Linked DNA regions of Homo sapiens: regions 1 and 3 are each linked to region 2. The links are contacts of gene promoters, found by promoter capture Hi-C in blood cells and fetal thymus (Javierre and others, 2016). All regions are on one chromosome and are shown on one strand. Each heading gives the region's core, a stretch centred on a gene start or on the middle of the fragment in contact. The rest is flanking DNA. Distances are from core to core; before and after follow the strand shown. Region 1 overlaps ATP9B (ATPase phospholipid transporting 9B (putative)). Region 2 holds the start of ATP9B (ATPase phospholipid transporting 9B (putative)). Region 3 overlaps ATP9B (ATPase phospholipid transporting 9B (putative)).

Region 1 (3,612 bases), core at 975-3,474, 180 kb before region 2:
GAGACACTTGGCCTGCCACAAAAACTCTTCTCCATGTTGCAATACAGCAACACAGACAGCAGCTCATTTTCAACAGAAACTCTTCAAAGACTGCACATTCCCAGCTCTATATTCTCCCAAGAAAGCACACTGCCCTCTAATTCACAGCAGCAGATCCCCTTCTAGCCAAGTAAAACGTCCACAGCAGCATCTCGGAGCTCCAGCATGGGGCTTTCTCTTCTCTGGGTCAGCCACAGTACCAGTAACAGCGCCGCTCCCCCAGATCACAAATGGTCGGAAAGGGAGCGGTACTCAACCAGTTCTGAAGTTCCCAACGCTGCTGCGGGTATGGGCTGTGCCTTCCCTTGAGAATGGGGCAGCTGAAGACCACAGCGGCTGATTTATCAGCTCTATTTAAAAAGCAGCACAACCAGGACAAATATCGTGCAATTTCCGCTACTTCAACTACTACATAGTTTATGCTTGAATTATTGAGAAAAATAGGTTTTTGGATTAAAATGAAGAAAAATTAAGCCAGGGAAGTAGAGCATGTTTCAAAGCCCAGATCCTTTTGCTGTGACAAAGGCGGTCTAAGTTTCAGGCCTCACTGAGGATCAGATGAAGTCATTATTCATTCACTCAGGGAAAAAAGACTCAATTACCTCAACCTAAAGATGCTATCAATGAATGCAAAGTGCATATTTTACTCTATTCATCCAAATCCCATTAAAAAGTGAAAGGAATGATTTAATCTGGCCTTCCAGAGTTGGTCTTTTTTTGTAATAAAATAAAGAATCACTGTCTTGCAAAATGCATAACCACCACCTCACACTTTCCCCTGCAACATAGCAGTGAGGAACTGTAAAAGCCAGGACAAAAACATTCAGAAATGAATACAAAGTTTCCTTTCAAAAAATGCCACGTATTGGATGGAAACATTCAAAGCCGCCCACTGCACACCGATATGCAGATCATCAAAGCATTATTACCTTTCTCATTGATGAAGACAGATGTGGTCAGATGCTTGACTAGTGAATGTAATCACTTTGAAGCCAAGTATATGTTGTCTTCTCCCAACCCCTTTAAACTTAAGAGCAATAAAACATTTAGTGGAATAAAATATAACTTTTCAAGGATGGGCTGTGCCTTGCAGGTGGCATTTTCTGAACTATGACTGTTGTTCCTGGAATATAACTTGTAACCAAACTACAGCATATAGTGTAAAGCTTGTAGGTTGCTTTTATTTTATTTTATTTTTTCAATTCTAACAAAACAGAAGAAAAGACACATTTCAACACTTGCATTTTTTTAACCCACTTCAATTAATAATCTTTTAATATTCAATTTCTCTGAAACATGCTTTTCTTCAACTGATCTAAAATACAATCTGAACTCTTATAAACTATTTAAAATAAAAACCAGTTAACTTATAAAGTTACAGATTCTATAAAGAAGGTGGTAACTTTAGTTTTGATGTGGATCTCTTCCTTCTTTAAAAAATGTCTTAAATACCTGGACAGACCAGATAACTTTTGCCATGACTGTAAACTTTTCACCCATAAAATATATTAATCACTTGAAGTAATTACGACTATTTAAGAAAAGGTAATGTAAATACACTTAGAAGTTATTTTCAACATTCATTGTCATCTCCTATATTAGTAAAGCAAATTTTCTTCTACTTGTCATAATATTTATTTGAAACAACTGCAATAACAAAATTAAATATGCTACTGCAAATTTTAATCTCCAAGGGAAAATTTGTGCATAATGTCTAAGACAACCACAATGATTCTGCAAAGGGGCTGTTCTAGGATAATGAACACAATAATTGCCTGTATAATCTAAAATGCTACTAATGGCAACGATCACAAATCCATTTAGCTCCTCTTTAATTTATGTACCAAGTTTTAAATAGCTAATGGTTCTCAGTAAAATAATGGTTTATACCAACAATAAAGGGTAAATACGGTATTCTCCTGCTTAATCAAGAAAAGATCAGGCTTTTTTTTTTTTTTAAATGAATGCTCGGACGAGTGAGAATCAGACCTTATCTCCATGACACAGCAACACTTCAAACCATCTCAAAATTAAAACTCACATCATACTACTAAGTTCCTAAGCAATCAATGTACACGGCAAATTGGAGCAGACGTCGAATGCTGTAAAGTCTCAGGCCCTATCCATGATTCAACAAAGTGCCTGTGCAACACTTACTGCTGATGATGTCACCCTGGGTGAACAGGATGTCGGCATCCAAACACTCTCACCCATCTTTTAAAACTCACGCGTACTTACCCCTTACAAAGAAGTAGTTTAGAATAGTAAAATGCAAAACTTCAAATAGCCAATTTAAACTCTTGCAGAAAACTAAATTATTTTAGTTTGTCCTGTAGTTTCCCTGTGAATATAGGACAATTTGAAAAGCCTCGACTCTGACACCCAATTCATTCATGCTACTCTGCACTAGCAGAGAAGAACAGCTTTGTACATGGCTGACTACGTACAGAAAAACACAACTGTTAACACTGCTTGTCTTTCATCAGCTGAACTATTTGTGGATCAGTTCTTCATTTCGAATTTGGACCCTGACTACAAAACTGATATAGGGCTATGCATTAACCTAACTGAAATTCCTATAAAAAGCATATTCTTTTAAGTATCTTTGAAACAAATAAGCCCTATATTTTCCACTGCTAGTAGAATCTTAAGAGACAAGAAAAAAATAAGTAATTTTCAGACCTTCATTTGTGTTTCTGCATTTCAAATAAATGAAACTCATGCACTAAATCTAAGTACTAAATTTTAGAGCAACAACTTTTCCATTACGAAGTTTAAATTAAAAGTATTAGTTTTTAAAAAGTGATGCTACATAGTCTTTTTCCTTCTGAAGTTTATTATTCTTTTTTGGATATGAACTACTAAGCCTTAAGTGTGTGTAGTACATGCAGGCTGACCGCACACTATAGATGTGGCTGAGCCATTATCGTTTATCGCCTCAGTGATCTGCGAAATAAGAAGGGTTTCTTTTGGCCATTATAGTCTGTTGGCTCAATAATCTGTGCTTTAAGAATTCCCTAAATAAGTATCAGCACAACAATTCTTAATGTTACAATTTATCACCTTAGTTCTTAAAAATCAAAACCTGTATTTACACAATAGACAATTTAAAGTCTATTCTGAAAGAATTATTTCATAACCTACATGTTTGCCTACCAAGAAATTTAACATTTTGCCTATTCTATACTCAGAATTTAAGCTTTTTCCCTTGCTTGCTATATAGTTATTATATAAAATGTTTTCCCTTGAACATTAACATAAAAAAGTACTATATTTTTTGTATAAATAAGAAAAGTATTAATGCAAGAATCAGCTACTAAACAGGGAAGCAAAACCACGTTTGAAACCAACATATGACACGTAATTAAGAGACAAGGGAGTTCAAAGTAAACCCTCACACCTAGTTTACACAAACTGGAGCTACCCAACTTTTGATGTTACAGACTATGCATATTGATTGTCACTCTGTCCGCCGACCTATATAAACATGTTTTTAAGGATAAAATTATTACTAAAATTTGCAAGCATATTACCTGCTAAGTTTGAAGGGGGCTTCATGAGTGCAGAATGAGG
Region 2 (3,965 bases), core at 203-2,702:
TGCAAACATTAATCCAAAAAAAAGCATAAATGGCGACATCAATATCTAATAAAGATTTTAGAGCAAAGAAAATTACCAGAGACAGAGGAACATTAACAATGAAAGGAACAATCCACCGAGATGACAAAAAATCTTGAATGTGCGTGCACCACATGACAGTGCTTCAAAGTACATGAGGCAAAAATGGATTCAATCTGTGATGGAAACCTATTTTGAAACAGGTGGCACATTTCCAACTAAAGAACTCCTAAAATTAAACAGATTTACTAACACAATTACTGTTATAGGTAACACCAGAACCCACTTCCAACCAAGCACTGAAAAAAGGGCACCTTACACATGTTCTACTGTAATCTCCAATAATCCCGTAAGAAAAAATATTATCCAGCATTTTACAGATGAGGAAACCATGGCTTGAGTTTAAATAAGTTACCCGAGAGTAAATCGCTAGTGGGTAAACACTCAAATCAGCGTTATAACATTCCAGTATGTACTTTGAGCTATATGTTAGTCTCTCAAATGGCCGAAAACAAAAATTATTCAAAAACTCAAATTCTGAAGCAACTACATATTGAGTGAAATTATGTTTTCGACAATTCCTCTGGAATAAAACTTCAAAAACTATAAGAAGCAACACTTTTTAAAATTTTCTTTTCTTTGAATGAGAAATGTTAAATATGAGCTAAATGCAATCTCGAGTATGAAAGGTCTGTACACTAATTCTACTGCTAACCTGTGACCCCACTAAACAAGTTAACCGTTCTCAATACCCCATTTCCCTTTCGTAAAAGCAAAATTACTTGTCGACAAAAAGCACTTTGTATATATATGTTTAAACAAAAAGTGTGCCTAGCAAAGATATCGAAATGTCGAAGAGAAGTCATTTCAATAAGAAGTGTGTTTTTAACAAAGCAATTAAAAGTTACATCCGTCACCTTCACAATTCACAGGGCTACAAGAACAAGTTTCGGAGACTCTGAAGTATCCGAGAAGTTAGCACTTTTGATCCCCGTTTACTTTAGGAGAGCAGCCACCCCTCAACACTGGACCGCGGTTCTCTGCTCCCGTTCTGGCTCCTACGCTCGGCCCAGGCGTCCCGGGGATGCAGCCGCTCGCCCCGGCAGCTGCCCGCGGCCCTCACCACCGGCGGACGCCACAGCTGCGGCGCGCTCAGAACGCCAAGGACTCCCGGCTCCCAGCGAACAGATGGGGCGCGCCGGTAGCGACCCCAGACCCGCCCGGCTCCGGGTTCCTGCGGTGGGCTGGGGGCCCCGGGGAGCGTCGGCGGGGAACGGGGCCAGTGCCGCCTCGGTTACCTGCTGTGCCGGTCGGCTCCCGGCCTGGGCCCCGCGGCGCTGTAGTAGGCCGCGCGTTTGCGGTTGGCTGCGGCCGCCGCTGCGCTACGCACCGGGTAAAGCGGGATCTGGTCCGCCATGTTCCGACCGCCCCTTTCCCGCCCCTCCCACTTTCCCCTCAATTCGCCACCTTTTCCCCGCCCTCTCCCCTCAGCGCCAACCCCGGCTGAGGCGCCGCCTGCGGGCCTTCCCCGCCTCCGCCAAGCGGCGAGGTCCGATGACGTAACGAGCGGCGGCGCGGAAGGTGTGGCGTCCCTAGGCCCCGCCCTCGTTTGGCGTCGGCGCACGATGACGTGCCCAGGGTGGCAAAAGCGCGGCGCAGGAGGCAGTGGAGTCCGGGCAATGACGTCACGAGTGGCTAAAGCTGGGACGGGGGGCGTCGCGTTCCGAGGCCCCGCCCCCGCCTCGTGACGGGCCCGATGACGTCACCGATCGGCGGGGCGGGGCGCGCGTGCGCCACAGGCTGGCCTTCCGGTAGCGCGCGAGGGCCTGCACGTGGGTCGTGGTTCGACCCGGCGCGCTCTGGTCCGCGGGTGGAAGGGCCTCGCAGCCGTCTCCTGGAAGCTCTGCCGGGGACACGCGTGGGCGCGCGCGGCCTCCTTAGCGGTCCAGAGCCTGCGCTGCCAGTAGTACGCGCGCCCCATGGCTGTGTGGGGCCCCACGCGCCCTCCTCGCCGCGCGGCTTCTTGCTTCCGCCCCGCGCTTCTCCAGCCTGCCTTCGGTGCCCGCTTCCTGCCCGCGCCCTTGGAACCGCTGGTGTCTGTGCGTTCACAGGCAGGGTCGTGCTACGTGGCCCGGGCCCCCAAAGCGCCGCGACTGCAGGCGCGCCCACCGCGCCGGGCTGAATTTCCGAGATGTTCTTGTCCTGCTTCCTCACTGCTGCTTCCTTCTTTCTCTGGTTCTGGGTCTTTAGCTTGATTCCACATCCCCCACCTCTAGGCCCACAGCCTGCTGAAAAGTCCTATAGGCGACTGTCAGAAACGAGGTTTACACCCTCAGTCTACACAAGAAAGCAAAACGATATTGAATAAACGAATACACGGCTTTGGTTGGGTTTGTTTCATTTCCTGTCCCGAGGACAGCTCCCTTCCACCTCCATCACCCGCTGCAGCTGGAAGCCGGCAAGCTGATGCACCGCTCACCTCACGTATTAATGGTTTACTCACTTTGTGTTTTTTTAAACAATGTTTTTCTGATATTCCATTTTCATGACATATAAATTTTGTCTATGTGTTTGAAACACTGTTCAACATGAACTTATAAATGCTTTTCTTTTCTGTTTTTTGGAGATGGGGTCTCTGTTACCCAGGCTGGAGTGTAATGTTTTGATCACGGCTCACTACATCTTCCACCTCTCAAGGTTCAGGTGATCTTCCCCCATCTGCATGTATTACTTTTTCATTATAAAAAATGGTCTTTATGAATATGAATATTCTTAATTTGTTGCTGCCACTCTGATTGCCAGTTTGCTTCTCAGCTGCTTTTCATGTAACCTGAATACATGCCACTCCACAGACACTAACTACTTTCAAAAGACGCCAATGGCCTCCTAATTGACAATGGCCTCACCCATTATTTCTCTACCTCACTCTCAGCCGCTGACACTGTTCACACCATCTCTCACCCACATTCAACAACTGATATTGATAACACCATCTCATTCTCACAGCACTGGCACTGTAACACCATCTCCTCACCCTCACTCAGTACCTGACAGTGATAACGCCGTCTCCTCACCCTCACTCAACTACTGACAGTGACAACAGCATCTTCTCACCCTCACTCAACTACTGACAGTGACAACACCATCTGACCCTCAGTCAACACCTGACAGTGACAACATCTTCTGACCCTCACTCAGCAACTGAAAGTGACAACAACATTTCTTCACCCTCACTCAACAACTGACAATGACAACACCTTCTCCTGACCCTCAACTACTGACAGGGACAACACCGTCTTCTCACCCTCACTCAATAACTGACAGCAACAACACCATCTCCTGACCCTCACTCAACTACTGACAGTAACACCATCATCTCCTGACCCTCACTCAACATCTGACAGTGACAGACCATCTCCTCTCTCTCACTCAACACCTGACAGTGATAACACCTTCTCCTCACCCTCACTCAACTTCCAACAGTGACAACAGCATCTCCTCACTGTCAGTCAACTACTGATAGTGACAACACCATCTCCTCACCCTCACTCAACACCTGAGAGTGACAACAGCATCTCCTCAGCCTCAGTCAACAACTGACAGTGTACCCTCACTCAACAACTGACAGTGACAACACCATCTCCTGACCCTCACTCAACTACTGACAGTGACAACACCGTCTCCTGTCTCCTTACCCTCACTCAACAACTGACAGTGACACCATCTCCTCACCCTCACTCAACACCTGACAGTGACAACAGCATCTCCTTACCCTCACTCAACACCTGAAAGTGACAACAGCATCTCAGCCTCATTCAAGAACTGACAGTGACAACATCTCCTCACCCTCACTCAACACCTGACAGTGACAACAGCATCTCCTCACCCTCACTCAACACCTGACAGTGACAACAGCATCTCCTCAGCCTCATTCAAGAACTGACAGT
Region 3 (3,731 bases), core at 1,146-3,645, 140 kb before region 2:
ATATCCTTAACTAATCAAACTTGTCCTTTGACCTTCAAATAAAGATGGTACCAGATGAACCACTTTCTTTTAGTGTATTTCCACTGTAAAGATCAAAGTATTACTAAATATCAGTGACAGCCTTTGCTAATATTTCAAAATGTGTACAATTAAAATAATAGAAATATTATAAAAAACGGTATTTGACTTTGCATTTAGAAGCTATTACTCTCTTTTACACGTCAAAAAGATATAATAATTTTTAAATTTAAGAGAAAAGAATAATAAAATATCCTTGGTATGACCGATAGATTTCAAAGGCTAAAGGGCACTTATCTCTAGAATGTCAGTATTAAAAACCATGGAAATCTCTTTCTGAAACTACAGCCATATATAATTTATATTCCTAATTTTCATCCTTAATTTTTTGTAAATTTTGAAGGTGAGAAACACAATTAAGGTGAGAAAGTATATACACATAATGTGCAATTACCAACCATTACAGAATTAACTATAATAATTATATGAAAACTCTGATGTCACATTAACTTAACATGTAAAATGCAGAGCATCATAAGACAGGCTCTTTGAAGTAAAGATGATTGATATGAACTCCCGGCTTTTCGTGAACCTTGATATGTTACATATTATACATATCACATGGCTTACACCTTCCTCTCTAGAAAATCTAGGAAGGTGGAAGATGTGAAGTATTCCCCAGCAGGGATATGTGTGGAGATTATATATATTTCTCTTTTAATTGAGTGTCACTGAGAAGTGTGAGGCTTCAGTTTGTAAAAGTTCATGAAAGGCAAGGCCAGCTCACACTTAGAATATAAGCTCCCCGATGCACAAATGCCGTCTTTATTACTATTATCCACATAAACTTCTGAGATTAGATGACTATACTTACTACGCAGAGAAATATTAAATATATAATACAATACTATAAAAAGCTTTCAAAAGGAGATCATAGAATTACTTCACATCAGTGAAGCTAAATATTAAATATCATCTGATCAGTATTTTCTGTTTTGCCAATCTAGTTTAAATCAAAATATAAACATCCCACTAATGTTAAATTATCACAATGATGTAAGAAGGCAAACTGCAAAATTAACTTATTTTTTAACATTAGCAGAATGAGCAAATCTCAGAAAAGGCTTTGCAAGAATTAATCAAGCTAGAAACCGTTGAGCTGAAAGCAGGTTGACTGATGAGCAAAGTGGACTCTAGAGTGGCCTTACAATGCACAGTACCTCAATTCAATGTGATACATAACAAGGCATATGTTATACATTTTTAACAGAGGTCCTGGTACAATATTTGTATAATCTGTTAAAGTTTGCTAAAGGCTCTCGTAAGTATTCTCTCACTTGATTCTCATGAAAAATCAACACTTACTAGAATTAGATTAAATGAATTTTTCTGAGTGTCATGCTTTTTAATATCTAACGTAACTAGAATCAGTGCAGAAATATTTGGGACATTTTCCATTCTCTTTCACAAAGGGTATGTACTTATGAAGTACAATAGGCTAAAAGACTGAGTAAAACCTGAGTATACAAGGCAAAACAGAGGAAAGGGATTAACTGTGGATTGCGAAATGAGACATGAGAGGGCAACAAAGTATGATAAACTCATTTTGTGTCGTATAAGATAACAGGAGACTGAATGTGACAAATATAAATGTCACAAAGATTTCTCACTCAATGAAATACTTAAACAGAAGAATTCCAAAACTTTAACCCATATTTTCAGTGTAAAATCAAGATCCACCTCCCTCACAACGCGCTCCAACTGGAGAAACTTCTACATCAGAAAGACCTGAGTTCAGGACCATGTTGGTAGATTAAAACCACAACCACAACAACAAACCAGTTCTTAACAGGACCCTAAAAATGATGGTGGTCCAGTATTCATCATTAAATCAAAAATTTAACTTCATTTATCCCAAGACAACATTTTAAAAGATTTAGGAGCACTTAATCTTCAAAGCCAGTGATTACATTTGCCTGATCCATAACTGCACACTTCAAATTGACTACAGGTAAAAATTAATATTAAATATTCAGATGCTTTGGGTCCAAAAAGGGAGGCATAAAATATGACCACATTTACTCCTACACTCCACAGACCCCATGACTAGGGCCCTCGAGACTTAGCCTACTTCAAAGAGGCTGCTATGTGGATGGTCTGCAAGTCATTCTATAGTCCAACCCTATCATGTCCAACTTCTGTTCAATCACAATTTCATGTGAGTGGGATAATAATTACTCTGTTAGTTACTATGTGCCTTCCTTGCTACAGGCTATATAGAAAATTTCATGCAAAATTATACCACCTTCTAATTGACTACAGTTGTATTTTAAGCAAACAACTTCCATGTTGCAAAGCAAGACAAAGAATGCTAACAAGGTCAAATTTTGTAGAAAAATATACTCTCCTTTATTTAAACATTTCTAGTTTATACCAGAAATCATAATCCAGCACTTCCAAACAAGTAGTCCACTCAATATTTCAAATGATAGGCCTATTGCAATACTTTTAGTTGCTATTTCTAACCACTGATATGTTTAATTTGCAGATAACCAATCCTCACAAATTCAAATTAATTAAGATGATTCATAGAAAATTATTTAAAAACACAAAATATAAAACCTAGACCACTTTAACAAAACAATTAATGGCCTTAAGTTATCAAATCAAAATGATGTGAAATGCTTACTAAAAGTAAATATGTATTTCATGTGTGTCTAATGAGAGACAGAGGTATTAACAAATCAATGTATTTGTTGACTCTCAATTATACACCCAAAACCTGCTAGATACCGTTAGCAAAAGCAGGCAGGGCCACATACACCAGCCTCTGGAACACACTCCAACTCGCAGATGCCCTCCAGGAGCCAATTTCCACAGAACCCCAGTGTGCACTGCTCCCTGGGGCAGGCGCTCCCGGGCTGGACCCGATGATAGCAAGGCAGACACTGAGCACTGCACGTACAACTCCAACCACGCACCAAGTGCAGGAAAACTGATGAAGACCGTGAACTGAGCCCCAGGATGTAAACAACCTAGACCAAAACTGGTGCACAGACTACAAAGGAGACCCCCAACCAAGGTCTAGAGTCCACACAGCCAGGACACAGAGACACAGGTGACCCACACCCAGGTCTAGAGTCCACATGGCTGAGACACAGAGACACAGAAGACCCTCACCCAGGTCTAGACACCACACGGCTGGCCCACTGAGTGACAAGGAGACCCGCACCCAGGCGTGGGTCCACATGGCCAGGGATTGCCCTCTGACAGCCCCGTCACACTTTTGTCAACCTTGCCTTAGAGAGCCCAGCTTTCCTTCCAGTTTTGTGACAGCTGAGTATCAGGAACACTCCTTTGTATGCTCATCAGTATAATAAACACGATGGTTCTCCAGGACCCAGTTCTGCATTTTAGAGAGCAAGTTTTCTGGATCCACATGGGAAGTGAAACCTCCGGCAGCACAGCAGGCTCTCTGTGTCCTGCCTTGGCTCACCTCTCGTCTGCTGCATCTGCCTGTCTGTGTCTAACCTGAGTCCCGGTTCCCATGCATTCAGAACTCTAGGGATGGGGAGGAAGCACTGAGTTCACTTCCCCTCCAGAGTCAACTTGAATTCAACTGAGATACGACTTTTAAAGTATAAGAGTAAAAGGAATTCTCAACTTGTAATCAATTACAAAGAATACAAGAGTGCCTAGGTTACTCTGGAAAT

Evidence for each region. The method cuts DNA at HindIII sites, captures the fragments that hold promoters and counts their contacts. A CHiCAGO score of 5 or more calls a contact.
Region 1: a fragment that was not itself captured here is called in contact with the fragment with the promoter of ATP9B in region 2 in 2 of 17 cell types (M2 macrophages and M0 macrophages); the score reaches 7.3 in M2 macrophages.
Region 3: a fragment that was not itself captured here is called in contact with the fragment with the promoter of ATP9B in region 2 in 1 of 17 cell types (M2 macrophages); the score reaches 6.2 in M2 macrophages.

What each region holds. Positions count from the first base shown.
Region 1 is chr18:79,247,465-79,251,076 of GRCh38, reverse strand. All of the region lies in intron 11 of ATP9B (ATPase phospholipid transporting 9B (putative)), which reads right to left. Among named protein-coding and RNA genes, the nearest start is that of NFATC1, 150 kb to the left of the region's middle. RefSeq lists an enhancer at 282-1,068. The HindIII fragment of the contact is 2,033 bases long and covers 1,208-3,240 here.
Region 2 is chr18:79,066,881-79,070,845 of GRCh38, reverse strand. It overlaps ATP9B (ATPase phospholipid transporting 9B (putative)), which reads right to left and starts at 1,452. Exons shown (of 30, transcript NM_198531.5): 1 at 1,317-1,452. The coding sequence starts at 1,435. The HindIII fragment of the contact is 22,095 bases long and covers 1-3,965 here.
Region 3 is chr18:79,209,887-79,213,617 of GRCh38, reverse strand. The region is part of intron 10 of ATP9B (ATPase phospholipid transporting 9B (putative)); the gene reads right to left. Among named protein-coding and RNA genes, the nearest start is that of ATP9B, 140 kb to the right of the region's middle. The HindIII fragment of the contact is 2,916 bases long and covers 938-3,731 here.